Regions from separate parts of the Homo sapiens genome. Here all the other regions are linked to region 3. The links are contacts of gene promoters, found by promoter capture Hi-C in blood cells and fetal thymus (Javierre and others, 2016). All regions are on one chromosome and are shown on one strand. Each heading gives the region's core, a stretch centred on a gene start or on the middle of the fragment in contact. The rest is flanking DNA. Distances are from core to core; before and after follow the strand shown. Region 1 overlaps IQSEC1 (IQ motif and Sec7 domain ArfGEF 1). Region 2 overlaps IQSEC1 (IQ motif and Sec7 domain ArfGEF 1). Region 3 holds the start of NUP210 (nucleoporin 210). Region 4 has its middle 9.4 kb from the start of WNT7A.

What was found. Contacts are between HindIII fragments. The CHiCAGO score rates a contact against its expected background, and 5 or more counts as called.
Region 1: a contact is called between a fragment that was not itself captured here and the fragment with the promoter of NUP210 in region 3, in 1 of 17 cell types (total B cells). The highest score is 6.6, in total B cells.
Region 2: a contact is called between a fragment that was not itself captured here and the fragment with the promoter of NUP210 in region 3, in 2 of 17 cell types (total B cells and naive B cells). The highest score is 5.5, in total B cells.
Region 4: a fragment that was not itself captured here is called in contact with the fragment with the promoter of NUP210 in region 3 in 2 of 17 cell types (non-activated CD4 T cells and activated CD4 T cells); the score reaches 7.5 in non-activated CD4 T cells.

The regions. Positions count from the first base shown.
Region 1 is chr3:13,025,865-13,030,143 of GRCh38, reverse strand. The region is part of intron 1 of IQSEC1 (IQ motif and Sec7 domain ArfGEF 1); the gene reads left to right. Among named protein-coding and RNA genes, the nearest start is that of IQSEC1, 45 kb to the left of the region's middle. RefSeq lists enhancers at 2,330-2,829, 2,830-3,331. The HindIII fragment of the contact is 4,973 bases long and covers 1-4,279 here.
Region 2 is chr3:12,967,902-12,972,544 of GRCh38, reverse strand. The region is part of intron 1 of IQSEC1 (IQ motif and Sec7 domain ArfGEF 1); the gene reads left to right. Among named protein-coding and RNA genes, the nearest start is that of LINC02022, 85 kb to the right of the region's middle. RefSeq lists an enhancer at 4,282-4,361 and a silencer at 4,512-4,643. The HindIII fragment of the contact is 2,267 bases long and covers 1,874-4,140 here.
Region 3 is chr3:13,417,587-13,422,301 of GRCh38, reverse strand. NUP210 (nucleoporin 210) reads left to right here and starts at 1,980. Exons shown (of 40, transcript NM_024923.4): 1 at 1,980-2,242. The coding sequence starts at 2,076. RefSeq lists silencers at 1,746-2,145, 2,196-2,765. The HindIII fragment of the contact is 10,112 bases long and covers 1-4,715 here.
Region 4 is chr3:13,887,131-13,891,819 of GRCh38, reverse strand. No RefSeq gene overlaps it. Among named protein-coding and RNA genes, the nearest start is that of WNT7A, 9.4 kb to the right of the region's middle. The HindIII fragment of the contact is 4,745 bases long and covers 462-4,689 here.

The DNA of each region.
Region 1 (4,279 bases), core at 876-3,375, 390 kb after region 3:
CTTGGGTGACAGAGTTAGACTGTATAAAAAAAAGATTTTAGACAGAGCATGATGGCTCACGCCTGTAATCCTAACACTTCCGGAAGCTGAGATGGGAAGATTACTTGAGGCCAGGAGTTCAAGACCAGTCTGGTTAATGTAGCGAGACCTCATCTCAAAATAAATAAATAAATAAAGGTGGGACGAGGGTGGAGCTGGGAATGGTCTGGGAATGGAGGAAAGCCATGGAGCAGGTTCAGGCAGCAGACTTACCTCTACAGGTCTGGGTATTGGGAAACAGCCCAGAGGCAGCAGATGACAAGGAAAGGAGGCAGGGAGGCCAGTGAGGAGGTGAGGACCCAGCCCAGGGTGCTGCAGTCCTTACCAGTCCTCACCAGTCCTCTTTGAAGGGGATTTGTGTGGACACGTGCACGCATGCACGCACACACACATCTCACACCGCATGTGCGCACACACACTCACGCTCACGCACAAGGGGAGGGTTCCTGTTTGGCCCCCCTTGACCTGGACGGCAAGACCCAGGGAGTCAGGATACAGGGGCTAAAGAATTGAGGCCTCTCAGCACAACAAAATGGAGATTGAAGGGAGCAGCTTTCTTCTTTGTCTAAGGAAGGGGGTAGTGAATAGGCACAGCCTGCAACAAAAAGGATTTAGGTTAGACATTGAGAAAGACTTCCAAGCCAGCCGAGGAGAGCCGTGTTATGTAGCGGTTATGAAGCATGTCTCAGAACAAAGCTGCTTCAGTTCAATTCCCCACCCTGCCATGTTCTATCTGTATTAACCCTGGGCGTGTCTGTGGACCTCTCTCTGCCTTCCTTTCTTTATCCTATAGATCAGATAGTAATAGCACCTACCTCATGGGATGAGCCTAAGCATTAAATGAATTAGTCACACATAGAGCAGTGGCTACAGGAACCATTCAGTAGCCCTTAGGTATCACCGTTCTTGTTGTGTTGATGGAGAGCTGTGTCACCCTGGAAGTTTTAAAGACGGCCATAGCCAGAAACTTTCAAGGCTAGAGGCTTAGAAGGGCAGTTGCTATATATTCGTGATCTTCTATATAGCTTTACACAGTACAGTCACACAGCGTTAGCTCCTTCCATTTGTTTCATCTTCACAACCCCTGGAGATAGATCCTATTTTTCTCCCCATGTTGTGGATGAAGAAACTGAGGTAGGCCAGAAGGTGTGAGGAACGGCTTGTGAGGATCCCTTGGCCAGCGCAGGTCTCAGAATCAGGACTTCTGATCCGGAGTCCCAGATCTGCGGCTTCCTTACTGTGTGACCTCAGGGCAAGTCGCCTCCACCTCTGAGACTCCATTCTCCATCTCCAACACTGAAGAATGAGGCCAGAGCCTCCGGTGCCTATGTTGTCTGATTTCCTTGCATAGAAGATCTGAGCACAAACCCTGATGGTCAAACCCAGTACCATCTGCCCTCCCCATGGCTGAAAGGAAACGTGTCAGAACCCTCAGAAGGGACAACCCATGGGGACTGGCTGTCACTTTGACTGATTGCTAATGTGAGTCCTTCCATCTGGGGTGTCATCTGTCCCATGACCATGCCACCTGCAGAGGCACCCAGTTCTAGGGTCTGGCTCTGCCCTGACCCCGGTTGGGGTCACCTTAGCAAGTTCTTGGAAAAACATCCCCCAAACAGCCTCTACCCAGATGCTCAAGAGCTGCTCAGGATCCTGTTTCTACCCTCCCATGGCATAACTCGATAAGACTGTGCAATTGTCTTTATACTTCCTGCCGGCCTAGCCTGGCCCAGCCTCGGGGGACAGCTGACAAACAGAGGCCAGACGGTGAGCAGTCCCTGGCCCCAGATCCCACCCTGGCAGGTCATGTCCCTTATCTGGGACTCAGTTTTATTTGCAAAATAAGGGCAGAGGGATCAAGTGAGCTACTTGTTCATTCATTCATTCGGCAGGTATTCATTCATTAACTCCCCCTCTGGGCCAAACCCTATGCTTGAGGCGTGAGAAATGGATAAGCAAACCCCCTATTTGTCCTCCTGTCACTTCCAGTCTGGGATTATCAGCCCTGCGGGGCTTTGAGGGGCCACAGGCGTCTCTGGAGCTGAAGCAATCATGGGCAGCTTCCTGGGGGAGGAGGCAGCTAAGTGGACCTTGAAAGACAAGAAGGAGCGGAGGATACAAGAGGTATCCTGTGGGCTAGACACTCACAGATGTATTTTATTTGGCTTGCATAGGATTAACCTACATATCATTGTAAATTTGAATTTATTGCAAACATATAAAAATCAAGAGCTGTTACGTAAAAACCTGGATTTCTGATATCTGAAAAATCAGAGCCCTTATTCCTACAGAGCAGCCATCAGCCAGAGCCAAGCCACAGTTGTTCTGTTTGACCAGTCGGAGTCCCCCCGTTCTGCCTTGCCTCATCATCCCTCCAAACCTGCTCCCACTGGCCATCCCTGTGTCCCTGTCACCGTGGATGGAACCTCCATTTTTCCAGTTGTTCAGGCCAGCAACCCAGGCATCATCTTCCACTCCTCTTTTCTCTCTCACCTCCTCATCTTATTGATCAGACATTTCTACCAGTTCCACTTTGAGAATGTCTCTAGAATCCAACCTCTTGTCCTCACCTTCCTGTCCACCACCCCAGTCCAAGCAACAGTTCCTCCCTGGCCCCTGCCTGGCCATTGCCCCCTTGCGGTCTCTTTTCTGCACAGCAAGTAAAGTGAGGCCCTGCAGGCCAAGTCTGGCAACTTGGACGCTGGCCCTTTGTGCTCCATAAGATGGACTTGCGGAAGCTCTTCTCTGCCTTCTTTCCCAGCTCCTGCCCTGAAGTGAGTGCCCAGCCCCTGCCTGCGCACTGGATATTAGTGGCCATCCTAGGCCCGAGACAAGATGGTGGAACTCAGGATGCCAGCTGCCTGGGAGGCTGGGAGCCCACTACTGTCCTCCAAGACCCAACGCTCTCAGCACCCTGGACTTTCATTTTTCCATTTGGAAAACGGGCATTCCAGCACCCATCCTCAAAAGGCCAATGCTTCTTGAGAAGGGGGATCCAGGGTTTTGAAGTTCGGCCAACTCGGTGTATGTGCCTTCCTGCGCCTTGCATGGCTCTGGGCACCATTGGAAGACTGCAGATATAAATGACAAGTGATTTATTTTGTTTTCAGCCTCCAGAGCTTTAGCTTTAGAGTCAGATAGGCAGAGCTGGGTTTATATATCATCCTGAGTAACTAACCTCAGCATCTGAACCTCAGTTTATTAATTGGTAAAAAAAAAAACAAACAAAAAAAAAAAAAACTGGGGAGATAATAACTGCTACTTCATAGGGTGATTGTGCAAAGAACTAAGCTACATAGATCTCCTCACCTGCTCATGTGAGCTCTCAGAGCAGTGAGGGAGGGATGCAGAGACAGGTCATCCAAGTGCAGGGAAGAAATGGCTGCAGTCCAGGCTCAGGGAACGGAGAGGATGCAGGGCAAAAAAGGATGGACTCCTGGAGAAGGGAAGTGTATCATCCAGAGAAATGATCTAGTTTATACGCCTTCTTCATGGCACAGCCCACTGTGGGAAATCGTTTTCATTTGCTCCCTTGGTACAGAAGGAAGGCCAGCCCCACCAGGCTCCACAGTTTTGTTCACCAAATCCTCAAGTGATATCTGGCACAGAGTAAGCCAATTAATGAATGTTGACTGGGTGAAGGAACAAGCCAATGGAAAATTGGCTTCCTAGAGGAGGTGTCGTCTGAGTTTGAGCCTTGAGCATTGGGTCCTGGTAGGAAACATGGGTCACTACACAAGCTCCCTTGCAGTGTGGCCCGTGATGGGGCTGTGTGCAGGGTGGGATGGGGTTAAGGGAACTGGACACCTGGGCTGGCAGAAGGGGGGAACCCTAACCAGCCCTGGGCCAGAGGGTTGGGGGAGAGAACAGTTTCATGAACCAGAAAGAGAGAGACCTGGGTGCAAACAGCCACCCATCAGGACTGTGGCTGCCGAGGGGCACAGGAAGCGAGGACAGAGCTGAGGCAACGAGTACCCTGACCTATCATTCTCTCCTCCACCTCCTGACCTCCTGCCAGGGCCGCTGCTGGCCACCCCGTCAGGAACCAGGAGGCAGTGGGAGCCTGGGAGCTGCAGTCCCGGGCCCAGAGCAGACTGGGGCATGTGGAGAATAACTGGGCAATATGTGCAGAATTCCTGGCCCAGGGTGGACAGGCCTGGAGATCTGGGAGGGCTCAGGGGTGTTGTGATGGAGTGGGGGCCACTTGGGGGTGTCAGGAAGCTCAATGCAGAGAGAAGAT
Region 2 (4,643 bases), core at 1,758-4,257, 450 kb after region 3:
CTGAGCAGAAGCTCAAAATGTGCTACACCACCAGTCTTATCGATTTTTGTGGTTGTCAGTAAGACACAACCTGCTTGAAAGACGAGGAACCTGGAGTGGCCCAAGAGGTGGCTTAAGTACCATCAAGCGTTTGGGGTCTTTGTGGACTAGTTCTGGTGGGCTTCAGAGCCTCCTAGAAGATGTCAGAAGACCTTCAGTCCCTTGATTTCTTCATTTCACTGGCTTTTTTTTTTGTGACAGGATCTCAGTCTGTCATCCAGGCAGGAGTGCAGTGGCACAATAACAGCTCACCACAGCCTTGACCTTCCTACACTCGGGTGATCCTCCCACCTCAGCCTCCTGAGTAGCTGCGACTACAGGCACATGCCATCATGCCTAGCTACTTTTTCTGTTTTTTTGTAGAGATGGGATTTTGACATGTTGCCCAGGCTTCACTGGCACATTAAAAAAAAAAAAAAATTGCATTGGTTCCAGTCCAATCCATAACTGGCCTTTTGTTTTTGTTTGTTTGTTTGTTTGTTTGTTTGTTTTGAGATGGAGTCTCACCCTGTTGCCAGGGCTGGAGTGCAGTGGCACGATCTCGGCTCCTCTGCCTCCTGCGTTCAAGTGATTCTCCTGCCTCAGCCTCCTGAGTAGCTGGGATTACAGGCACCCACCACCACGCCCAGCTAATTTTTGTATTTTTAGTAGAGATGGGGTTTCGCCATGTTGGCCAGGCTGGTCTCGAACTCCTGACTTTGGGTGAGCCACCACACCTGGCCCATAACTGGGTTTTTAAAAAGTAACAAACACTTGTTTAAAAAATTTTTTTTGGTGTTGGAGGAGGGTACAGAGTCTCGCTCTGTCTCCCAGGCTGGAGTGCAATGGCACTCTTGGGTCTCTTTTAAGAAGTAATCTATGATTATACAATCTTATATAAGCATACTAGTGTTCTGTAGATTCTTTTATAAATACACTTCACATTTTTCTGGACTTTCTATCACAATGTTGTGTCTCAGATCTTTTCCTATAAGTATGCAAGATGCTGCTGCCATCTTTTTAACATGGGACTCCATTGATGGGTGTAATACAATTTACTTAACCAGTCTGCATTGAGAGGCATTGCACGTTTCCTCCCGAGTTCTGCTTTTTCAAATAATTAATATCCTTGGGCATGCCTCTATGTGCACATGGGCAGGCGGCGCTGTAGGATTCGTTCCCAACAGTGCATCCCATCTTGTGGCCATCTCATCTGAGGATCATCTGGCCCAGCCCTATCATTTCAGTCACTGTCTTCCCCCATGTTTGGATTCTGCTCTTGCATGGGGTGTCTGGCTGAACACGCAGGGGGTTTGCCAGGGTAGTTGGAGCCAATGTAAGACTGCCTCAGGAGAGCTTCATTTATTTCAGAGAAGGGCTGCATGTGCGCATTAATATTGTATGTTTTGCAGGTCATGTGTCTGTTGTAACTGTTTAACTTCATCATCATAGCATGGAAGAAGCCATTGACAATACATAAGTGGATGAGCGTGGCTCTGTTCCAATAAACCTTTATTTTAAAAAAACAGGCAGCAGGCTGGACTTGGCTCTCAGGCCATAGTTTACCAACCTTTGGCGTATTCAGCTGTCGAAGACCTTCTGTGCACCAGGCTCCACTGTCGGCACAGGGGCTGCTGCAGGGAAGGACATAGAACCAGCCCTGGCAGTTGGAATACAGCTCACTGGTATAAGCAAGCAGGTGCAGAGTAACCTGATGCCATGTAAAAGGAGTTTCTGACTTGGACTAGGCGCTGGTCATGGGTGTCTTTCTGGGAGCAGTGACATAGGAAGCTGAAAACCAAGGTCCTAGCTGTGAGCCAGGCACAGTGGGGAGTGTGGGGAACTGAAAGAAGCTTAGTGTTGCTGGAGGTGTGGCAGGCATAGAGTGGGCAGGAGGAGAGGTAAGGGATGGAGAGATGAACCAGGCCACGAGGCTGGCTGTGCAGGGAGGCTGGGCTTGATCCTGACAGCTTGGAGAGAGGGGCTGCAAAGGCTGGGCTTTGGGAGAGTGCCACACATCTGGCTGGAGGAAAGCAGGGAGGCTGTGGAAAGACTGGAGGCTATCAGAAGCTGGGGAGGATAGAGATAAAGTCGGGTTGTAGCATGTGAAATGGGCCAAGGCAAGCAGCTCAGGACTAAAACATGGGGTGATACAGTGGAACTAAACGTCTCCATGACTTTTTACATCCTGTGACCCCATACATGGGGCCCTCCTCATCCCTCAAGGTCCAACCCAAAATGTCCCCCCATTAGAGCCTCTCCTGGGGCAGAATTACAAGCTCTTTCCTCCACTGTCACGACACCATACTGGGGAATACTTGTCACAGCAGTGTTTCCCCACTGAGGCCTCAGAGTAAGTACTAATTAATGCTTGCTAAATTAAATTAAACAGCAAGGTGAATTAGCTGGGGTAGAGGTGGCTGCTAAGCCACTCTTTACAGTTGCAGAAACTGAGACTCAGAAAACTAAGCAATTTGCCTGAATGGTGCATGCAAGGATTCTGACCAGTCTGGTCATTTCTGCAGAAAAATTGGCCTTCTCTGCCTCTCTAGGCTGGAACTTTTCTTGCTTCTGCTCACAGTTCCCTAAATTATTAATCTGCAAGGCAGTTAGCGGAGCAGGAGCAAGAGGCACACTTTGCAGAAAGATAAAACAAGAGAATCAAGATGCATTTGGTTTCCAGAGTGTCCATCATCTGGTATTCCAAATGCTAACAGCGAAATTCAATCCCCTTCTAAATCCCAGCCGAGACAATGTCGCCAAGACCATCCTGCTGGGCGGCAGGGCCCTGGGCCTGGAGAAGTGCCTGAAATTCTTGGACAATCCGGATGGTGAGGCTGTCAAAGACCGTGCCCAGAGTGCTCCAGCAGCTGGGCTGGGGGAATTATTTTGGCTCCATTTATTGCAGTCTATTTTTAGAGAGCACTTCAGACAGGGGTGGGAGTTTTCTGCTGCCTCTGCCATCAACTGGGTCATGTGTACCCTATCCTCTCCCAGCTTCCTACCCCTACCCTAACCATGACAGATGCCAGATGTGGCTGTGGTCTTTGAGCAGTGCAGCCTAGTGTTCTTCTCCTTCCAGAACCCTCTATGTATAGGTACTTTTGTCCATCTTTTTTATTATGGCCTTCCTTGTGAGTGTGAGGTGGTATTGCGGTCTTGATTTACAGTTCCCTAAAGATTAGTGAGGTTGAGAGCATCTTTTCATGGGCTTATTGGCCACTTGTAGATTGTCTTTGGAGAAAAATCTACTCAGATACCTTGCCTGTTTTTAAATTGGGTTATTTGCCTTATTATTTTTGAATTGTGAGCGTTCTTTATGTACTATGGACACTAGACCCTTACTAGATACATGATTTGCAAATATTTCCCCCCATTCTGTGTCTTCATTTATTTTTAACAGAGCAAAGAAAACATGGGAAGCTGAGAAGAGGAATGTGGAGATGGGCAGTGAAGGGGCACTGGGTTCCTGCTCAGCCTCTTGCCTCGGAACCCAGGTGCTCTAAACTGGCATAAGGGGCACTGGGCTCCTGCTCAGCTTCTTGCCTGGGAACCCAGGTGCTCTAAACTGGCTTTAGGGGCTGCCCTCCTCTGCTGCAAGCTGGGCCACCTCAGCCCCCTTCCTTCACTGTCCCCCTCCAAATGAAAGATTCAGAAGGGCACAAGACAATGCCCCTGCCTTGATGGCTTCTTGCAGCTTCCTGACTCCCGTAGGCCTGCCAGCTGCCTGGCCCTCCAGGAGATGGACTTGTAGGTGGGTGGCCCAGGACAGGTGGGGTTTTGATTGTTCCATATCTGCTTGCTGTCTCCCAACCACGTCTAGGCATTCCACAGGTGTGGGCGCTGGGCACTGTATCTGCCTTCATGGAGCCCAAGGACAGATAATAAACAAGTAAACATACAAATGGAGGACTGCAAGCCATGAGCGCTCATAGTAGGAAGAGCCTGGGAGAGGAGGAAAGAGTGAGGGAAGCCGTCTCTTAGTTGGCCCAGTTAAGCTGAGCCTCAGTTTACTCATTGGTAAAATGAGGCCAGGGGTAACTCCACCTACTTCACAATGTTGCCTTGAAGGCCAACTATCACTAAAGAACTCTAAAGTGCTAATTAGTATTACTTTAAGCTTGTCATAGGTGCTTGAAGGGTGTCTCTGGGTGGAGAAAGGGTAGGGGGCTGGGTGGGCTTAGGGAGAAAGAAGCAACTTTCCATTAGATCTTCCCCCAAAAAGCCGCCAAAAGGGTGGTACCAACCTCAGGATAGGGCCCATTCCCTTCTCTGGGGCGCATCAGAGCCCCAGAACCACACGGTTCGGTCCAGGCAGGCAAAGGCCAGGTTTTATAAACTGAAGGCAAAATCGGGATAGGCAGATGTTGAGTAGGCATCAGCGGAGTAGGCTCTGGTTGGGGGTTTGGCGCTGTGCATTTGTTGTGGTTACACGCTGGAGAGGAAGACATGGCTCCCGGGAGGCGCCAGTGTTGGAGGGGCTGCGCAAAGTCCTCCTTCCAGAACAGAGGCTTCGCGCGCTGGGACCTGGATGCAGTGTCTGGGACTCCGCCCTTGCGCTCTGCACCCCGCGCCTCGGCTCGGCCCCGCCCCTGCGCGTAGCCCCGCCCCTGACGCCCCGCCCC
Region 3 (4,715 bases), core at 731-3,230:
GCCAACTCAATAATCTTGTATAAAAGCAAGTTTACAGTATGTAACCTTTTGTGCTTTTGTAGTGTTTGTTTTCCAGTCCGTATAATTCCCTGGAGCTTCATCCAAGATGGATGTATTAGCAGTTCATTTCTTTTTTTGCTGAATAATATTCCATGGCATAGATGTGCCACAGTATTTAATCATCACCCATGAAGGACCTCTGTGCTGTTTCCAGTTTGGGCCTATTTGATAAAGCTGCTATGAATGTTTTATGTACAGGTGATTGTGGGAACATCACTTTTCATTTCTCTAGGATATATGTCCAAGAGTGAGATTTACCTGCCTCGCAAGACATATGTATATGTATGTATATGTGCCATATTTCATATATACATATGTGTGTGCATGTATGTGTATGTGTGTGCATGTGTGCCATGTTTTATATATATATATGCTTGTTTATGCATAAAATTTCTCTGGATGTATACTCAAGTGGGAAACACTCATTGCCTGTAGGGAAGGGTATTGGGTGATGGGGAGGGAGAGGAATCACTTTCACTTGGAACCCTTTTGAGCCTAAGTTTCAACCATCTGTCTGGATTACCTGTTGGAAAACAAATCAATCTTGTGCAACCCAGAAGACACCCACAGACTTCCTCACAAATACCCTCTGAGGCTGCCTTTTCCGCGCAAGTCTGTTTTTTGTTTCTTCAAAGGGAGCCCGTTGGAATTCCCCTCCCAGAGCACCTGGTTCCACACAGGGCCGACCCTCACCCCCTTAGTTCTGGTTATCTCCAGAGATTTCCCCCAACACACACATTCCCTGGTCTAGGGCCCTCAGGCTTCGAGGGTGACCCCAAACACCCCGCATCACCATCCAAAAGCCCCATGATCCCTGAGGGGCAGGCTCAGCCTATGCGGGCCTCGCTGAAGCCCAGTGCGGTGTCTATGCCCAACCCAGGGGCCGCCGCCTCCAAAAAGCCTTCCTAGCCTTACTGACATTTATCCTCTCCTTCCTGGTCACCCAGTGGCATCGTTGTGTGTCTTCCTGGTTACAGTCAGCATCCACTTCCTGCACTCCTCAGACAGCCGGCCAGTGCACCCTCACCCCACCCTTTCCTGACCTCCCGCTAGGCTGGGCCTTCTCTGCAAGGCTAGATTCATATTTTAGCGGCACCAAGCAGTCAGGTGCCTGCTGACGCATGCCTTCATGCAATTCACGACAGACAGCTAAAAGCCACAGAGCACAGCGCGGAATCTAAGGCCTTCCATTGGTGTGCAGGTGGATTCCGCGGTGCTAAACTTTCTTTTGTGGGTGTGGGGGCCGTGGAGGGGGTTGTGCTCTGGCAGCGTTGGCGCCCTAAATGACCTATAGGTAACCTCTAATGGCTTCCGCAGGGGGTGCAGTGCGGAGGACAAGAGCTTGGGGCTCTCTGGCTGAGTGATCTGGGGGCCATTCAACCGGTTTTTTCCTGGAGAAATGGGAATCTTAAGGCCTCTCTGGAAAGGGTGTGAGGGGGTCGAGGGGGAGCGGGCCCCGGGCCTTCAGCGCTTCAGCAGGTGGCTTCCCTTTGCGAGCCCGGGGTCCCTCTTCTGGGAAGCATGGGCTGGGACAAGGCAGGCGCCGGTTTTCTGCATCCCAAATGTCCTGGGGCATGTGTCCCTTCCTTGCTGACCGTGGGTCCGGGCCAGAGCGCAAGGTCCAAAGCCGGCGGCTTGGCTCCACCGCCAGGGGCAAATACCAGGGCGGGATGCGTGCTGCGGGGCGCCCCGGGGGCTCCCCCTTGGGACTTCTAGGGTCCAGGGGTCCCCGCGGGCGCGCCCCAAGCCTTCTCCCTCAGCTCCGGGGGCCCGGGCGCGCGCCCATCCCCCAGCCCCGCGTCCCTGCGCGAGGGCCGGGCTGGGGGTGGGGTCGCCGCGAGCTCGGCCCCCAGAGTTCCCGCGCTCAGGCCCAGGAAGCGGCGGCCGCCGACGGCCCTCGCCCCGCCCCCGCGCTCATCACCTGCTGGCCTGGCGCGCGCGCGGGCGGGAGCGGAGGGCAACGGGGCGGCGCGGGCGGCCGGGCGCAGGGTCGCGGGAGGTGACGCGCGGCGAGGATGGCGGCGCGGGGCCGGGGGCTGCTGCTGCTGACGCTGTCGGTGCTGTTGGCGGCGGGCCCCTCCGCCGCTGCGGCCAAGCTCAACATCCCCAAAGTGCTGCTGCCCTTCACGCGGGCCACGCGCGTTAACTTCACGCTGGAGGCCTCGGAGGGCTGCTACCGCTGGTGAGGCGCGCGGCCGGGCCGGGCGGGCGCCGTGGGCCGGGCTGGGCCTTCGCGCTGAGAGGCTGGGCGGGCGCCGGGAGGCCGGCAGAGCCGGCAGGTGCGCGGCGCGCTCTCGCTGGGCGCTAGGCTGCAGCACTCGGAGCGGCGGGTGCGCGTGGGTCGCCACCACTGCTCATGTCATGGCGCCGTCCGGGCCTCCGCGCCGCTGAGGCGCGAGCAGAGCGGGCGCAGCCTGGCGGCCGTGACCCGCGTGTTCTGGGTTGTGCGGGAGGAGGGGTGGCCTGGGGAGCGGCGTCTGGGACCGCAGGGCCCAAGCCGGCCGGGCCCGAGCCGGCCTGACCCGGGAGGGGGCGCCGGGGCAGCTGGGCCGCACTTCCCTTGAGTCTGGGACCCCAGCTCGGGTTTGTCTGTGACCGCCCTCGCCCTGGCGTGGGAAGTGAGTCTGTGAAACGAAGCGCAGCGCCTAGCGTCGCGGGGAGGAACGGAGACCCTGGAGGAAAGGAGTTTTGGAGGGAAGCCCAGGGGCCGCTTTACAGAGGCGAAGTGAGACGAGGCAGGCCGGCGCTTCCCCTCAGGCTGCCTCGGCGCGGGTCCTGATGCTCAGGGCATTTCCATCACCCTCCCTCTCGGGTTGGGAGTTCTCCAAGGGGTCGGATGCGGAGTGTGACCCTGTGGAACCACAGGGACCCATGAAACCAGAGACCGACACTGACAGGGCGGTGCAGTCCAGCCCTTCCATTTTGCAGACCAGGGGAAATGGAGCTCCTGCCCCTGGCAAGGCTGCGTGGGCACGACTGAGCGCCCTTAGCTTCCCAGCCCAGCCGTCCTAGGGGTGAAAAGATGGGCTTCCGCCCTTCCCACCCCCAGGATGCTCAGTAGTTGCTCCCTTTATTTCTGTTTCAAGACTGGGTCAAGGTTGAGGCAGAACGGGGTGTGACCACGTGACAGCCATGTGTGTAAGCCTGGACATGTGTGTGTCAAGCCTGTTTGAGTATTAGTCTGTGCGTGTATGTAAGTGTGATGCCCGAAGCTCAGACCAGCCAGCTTTCTCTGTTGCTTGCACTATTTGCCCTATTTCTTTCTTTCTTTTTTTTTTTTTTTTTTTTTTTTTGAGACGGAGTTTTGCTTTGTCGTCCATGCTGACGTGCAGTGGTGCGATTTCGGCTCACTGCAACCTCCACCTCCCGGGTTCAAGCGATTCTCCCGCCTCGTAGCTGGGATTACAGGTGCAGGCCACCTGGCTAATTTTGTTTGTTTGTTTGTTTGTTTTTAGAGTGCACTCCAGCCCTTGTTGCCCAGGCTGGAGTGCAATGGCGCGATCTCTGTCCACTGCAACTTCCGCCTCCCCGGTTCAAGCGATTCTCCTGCCTCAGCCTCCCGAGTAGCTGGGATTACAGGCGCCCGCCACAACACCCAGCTAGTTTTTTGCATTTTAGTAGAGACGGGGTTTCACTATGTTGGCCAGGCTGGTCTCAAACTCTGGATTCACTGTGTTGGCCAGGCTGGTCTTGAACTCCTCAAGACCAAGGAGAACTCCTCAAGCGATCCACCTGCCTCAGCTTCCCAAAATGCTGAGATTACAGGCGTGAGCCACCATGCCTGGCTTGTCTGGCCAATTTTTGTATTTTTAGTAAAGATGGGGTTTCACTATGTTGGTCAGGCTGGTCTCGAACTCCTGACCTCAAGTGATCCCGCCGCCTCTGCCTCCCAAAGTGCTGGGATTACAGGCGTGAGCCACTGCACCCGGCCTGCCCTATTTCTTTTTTGAAGGTCTCCTTCCTGAAATCAAGACGTACTAGGTCAGCCCATTGCATTTTGGTTTTAGTGCTTTATGCACCTGGAGGCTCCTATTTCTGGCCTGATGCCAGAGGCTGAACTTGGGCATTAGGTTTTCTGTATCCCAGTCTAAGGCCTAGTCTTGTGTGGGAAAATCAGCTGTTAGTCAATACTGTGGCGGGGATACATGCTCATTCTCTTGTTGAAGCTGTCTGTCCTCTCAGTATGTGGGCAAGAAAGAGGAAACTGGTTATTAAAAACAGCTGGCTTCAAGTGAATCCCTTTGGATATATTTGTGTGTTACTTTCTCTGAGATTCTATAGCTGTACTTTTTTCTTTTTCTAAACTAACAACACTTTTTTCCCCCCCAACATCATTTTCTTTTCTGAGAGGAGCTGAAGGGTGTTGGTGGATTTTAATTTACTTGGTAGGAAAAAGGGAAAAAACATTCTTAATCTCTGATGCATCAGAGAAGTGCTAAGTACCTTATAACGTGTTTGGCGTTGATCTGTAGTTTGTATTGCAGATGTGTGACTGCAGATGTGTGACTGCTATTCAAAGTGTCTTCTCAGAGGTGTTTGGAAATTGTGATTCCCCCTTAACTTGACAGGAAGACATTCTGTCAATCAAGCATTGAGAATATTTTCTTTATTTTTAGTATTGCTGTTCCTAGTGTAGTCGTCTATTGCTGCAGTTT
Region 4 (4,689 bases), core at 1,585-4,084, 470 kb before region 3:
GTCACAAGACAGAAAAAGTTTATCTTCAGGATAATTGAGATTTTTCACTACTTTTTAGTCTACAATAATGAAAACAGCTACACTTAGTCATTTACAGATATTCATTTGAAGTACCATCGAGGGACCAGGCACAGAGCCAGCTGCCTTGTGTAAACTGGTGAACGAAGGGCTTGTCCTCTCCTCACCTGACTTACTTAGGGAATAGTCACTGTGTGCAAAGTACCTAGTATCTATTACTTCATTTAATGTTCATAACAGTACTAGGAAGTAATTACTATTATCCCCATCCTACACACAAGTAAACAGAAGCTCTGAGAGGCTAATAATCTATCAAGGCTCCATAATTATGTAACAGATCCAGAATTCAAATCCATGTTGGTCTAGTCCAGAGCTTCAGCCATTAACTATTCCATACTAGTGGGTTCCATCCATGGCTGTGTCTTAGAACCTCCCTGAAAGCTTTTTATATGCTCCACAGAGATTCTGATTTAAGTGGTTGGAGGTAGGGTTCAAGCATCAGTCTGTTTGTAATTATCTTATTTAATCCACACAACAACTGGAGATGAAGGTATTTATCTTTCTATTTAAAAATCAGAGAAACTAAGACCCAGAGATGCAGACTCACTTGCCTAAAGTCACACAGTAATTCCACAGTGAAACTGGGATATATGATCAGATCTGTCTTCTCCAAAAAGCCATCCTTAGCTCCAGAGAAAGGCAGCCTCCCTAAAGCTGGGGGATATACTGGCCAACCACTCTGCTCCAGCCCCAGAAGCCTCCCAGGGAATGTGTGTGCATGAGGGGCAGAGCGCCAGGTGGCAACTAAGTGATAAACAGGCCAGGACATGCCAGGATGTGTGCCGGAAGCCCAGCCCACTAAAGGCAGAGGTGTGGCTGGGCCAGGGTGGGGGCCGGACGTGGGGATGCACTTTTTCCCCAGCACAACAAGCTGTGGGCTTCCTCCCTCCCAGCTGAGCCCTGCCTGATATGGCAGGCCCAGAATGGGTCGCTAGCTAGAGAGTGGAGGGGTGGCAGGAGGGCAGGGGCCCAGGGCCAGTCCCCAGAGGAAGTCACATGGCTGGGGGCACAGGCATGACCCAGGAATGGTGAGGGGAGGGAGATATTTCAGGCCCGAGAGGAAGGGCCCAGCCCATGAGATGAATCACCCGGGCCGGAGATTATCCTGAGGAAGACCTTGGGGGTGGAATGGTGATAAGTGCTCTCCTCCCGAGGTGACCAGGAGCCCACGGGCAGATGGCCAGCGGCCGGTGAGGCAAAGTGTGGCTGGGAGCGCACAGATGAGTCTGAGAGGGCCCACCAGATCCAGGTGCTTTCCAGAAGGGACTTCTCAGTGACCCTACAACATGAGGGGAAGCCCTGGAGACCAGTCACTTGCACAAGGTCACAGGGCCAGAGATGGGATTTGGAGTGGGAGTGTGCCTTTCTGTTTCCGCAGCTTGTCTCCCCAAAGCAGGGAGCTAAGACTGCCACTGCCCTCCTGCTCCAGGGGCTTCCTGGGTGGACATGAAACTTCACTGATAAGACACCAGGCTTTAGACTCCGAATGGCAAACCAGGTGTCAGAGCTTATGCTTGCTCCTGGATGAGGCACTAGACTTGTCCCAGCTTCTTATTGCAGGAATGGGAAGTAGGGAGTCCAGAGGCTCACCCAGAACAAGGGGCTTACCCAGGATTCCAGAGCAGGCTGGACAGAGGCCAGTGGACCTGAGTCCTGCCTCCCAGCCCACAGATGATGATCTTCTGGATCTCTAAGGGTGGCCATCAGCATCACCTGGGAACTTGTTAGAAATGCACATTTTGGGGTGCATTTCATTCAGTCCCAGATGGACTGAATGTGAACCTGGGCAGTGGGCATCCCTCTGAGCATTAACAAGCCCTCCTGCAGGGGATTCTGGTGCCAGCAGAACATAAAGTACACACACACACACACACACACACACACACACACACACACACACACACACACATATTCACCGGGTGGTATTTGGTATAAAATGGCCTCACAATGGTCTTTACCTCAAATTCAATTAAAACAATCCCATCCACCTGATGATCCATCCATGGGCTCACAAACCATGAGAATGCAGAGGTCCTTCAAAATCAACAGGGATTTGTTTCTCAAGCTGGAGGGATATGTGGGCTCCTTGAAAGGGGAAACTTGTACACTACTCCCCCTGGCCAATAAACACACTCAATGGTGGTTTAACTAATTTTTAGTACACCATTGCTTAGATATGTACTATCATAAAACTAAGCGTAGGCTCTTATGCTATTAAAATCTGCAAGTTCCAGATGAAATATAAACTAACATAAACACCAGAAAATCTAACTTTTAAATGAATGATAATTGACATATGCCAGAGAATGTTACTTTGCTGAAGCCAAGTGGCAGCTTGTAGCCTGATCATGGTGTCAATTGTCACCATGTAGGGCCCATTAAATTTGGCACCATCTATCACCCTCTGTCATGAGATGAATCAAACCTCCCAACCCCTTTCCTCTAGCCCACCTCCTCCTAACCCTTTCTTCACACAGGGCAGGGGCTTCAGTGAATTACTGCTTTCTTCTCCTGGGCTCCAAATCACAAAAGTGGTTTTCCTGGGAACCTTATGACCATAAGCAAAAATGCAAACTCAAACAGCAAAGTTAATTAGAGGACAGTTATCAGTTATAATGAGGTCATCCTAATAGTTTGAAATATGAGGATGTTAGATTCATGTTAAAATGAAAAAAAAAAAAAGACCATTTGAAATTCTCATTCTTGGAGCCCTGAGCATTCCTCTCTGGAAACCTGGGAGTCCATAGATCCCTTTTGAAGAGACAGAGACTTAGAGCTGGCATGCCTTACTCCATTTCTGAGCTGGAGAAATCAAGGGCCACAGAACAGTGGGGACCCACTGTTCCCTTCTCTGATCCCTCTAACCTCTATCAGCTGATTTCTCACTGGTATGAGGAAGAAGTGTCCCAGTCACCATTGTATCCAAATGCAAGGGGCTCCCCTGGGATGAGTGAGCCGCTCTCCCTGAGAGAGGTTTGAGCACAGTTGGCCACTACTCAGTGGAGATGGGATAGACTTCCCTCCACCTCTGCCAGGAAGTCCAACTTGGGAGGTCTTGAGGGGGACCTGGGCATCTGTTTCATACCTAAGTAATTTGGATGCACATAGTAGTTTGAGAAACAGTGGCCCTGATCATCTTTAAGATTCCTCTGATCCTAGAGGGCTGGATTCCAATACACATCTTTATCGCCATAATCATCATCATCAAATAACTATCATGTGTTGAGTGCATGCTATGTGCCAGTTGCTCTGTGAAATGTGAATGTGTTATATATATGATTGCTGTAACCTATGAGATGGCATTATTATTATCATCATCTCCATACAGATACGGAAATAGGCTAAGGGAGGTTCACCATTTTCCTAAGGTCACACAGCAAGAGGCTGAGCCGAGACTCAAAGCTGGGTGTGTTGCCCCAGTGCCCTAGCAGTATTTCATATCCAACTCTGCCCCTAGCTGGCTATGTGCCTTTGGAGCCTCTCGGGCCTGCAATGGGGCTCAGTCTCCCCACCTGTAGGATGGATTGTCTCTTTGCAGCCTCTTCCACAATCTTGGCCCCCAGATTCACAAACAGATTGATGGTTCAGCAAGGGAGTCAATAGGACTTTGGCAGCAGGGGGAGGGAGACATCAATTTTCCAGCCCCAAGGCCCATGTTCCAGCTCCTCCCAGTCAGGATGCTCTGGTCCTACCCATTCTGCCCCCAACTCCTGCCCCCTTGATAACACTGAATCACTGGCCTGGGTGAGGCCTACCTCGTGCATAGCAGTGGGTATTAGGAATGCTGGGATGGAGATGAAATCTATGTAGGCGAAATCAGTGCAAAGGAGCCTATTATTAGCAGGAGTGAGGAGATGTGGGAGAAGACAAAAAGGGAATGGAGACATGTGTTAACATAAGTGCCAGACACTCAGCTAGACGCTCAGCTAGATGCTGGGTAAGCAACTTAACCCCTCAACATCTCAATTTTCTCTTCCGGAAAATGAGGTTTTTATGAGGAGTGCATGAGAATCATCCAATTATTCATGTGTCTAACAATTATTCATCAAGGGCCGCCCATGTTCCAGGCATCATTCTATGAAATGCAGCTGTTAAGTAACAAATATTCCTACTTGTGGGGCAGACAGTGCAATGAGGAAGATAGACAAACAAAAGTCAACAAATACACAATGTAAAGTTGGGGGGTGCTGATACATTCTAGGCATATAAATAAAGCCAGAGTAAGAGGTGGTCTAGACAGTGCCATGAAAGCGCAGGGTACTCAGGGGTCACCCCCATGGGGCAGCGATGTGGGAGGTGATATTCTGCTTGAATGAAGTAATGGGTGAACCATACAGCCATCTGGGAAAAGTGCTGCCAGCAGCAAAGAAATATAAGGCATCCATCAGACAGCCTGGCACATACTAGGTCCTCAGTAAATTGTGCATGCTATCACAGTGCAAAGAGAGAGGCTGTTTCCTTATTTGAGCAGATGGATGGTCTCTGTGTTCCTGCTGCTCCCCAGCTGTAGGAATGTAGTCTTCAGACCCCAGCTTTTTGCCCTGCCTGCTCTAATCCTGGGAGAGAGGACCTGGGGGCCAACAGCTCCAAGGCAGAAGGAGGAAGAAGAGA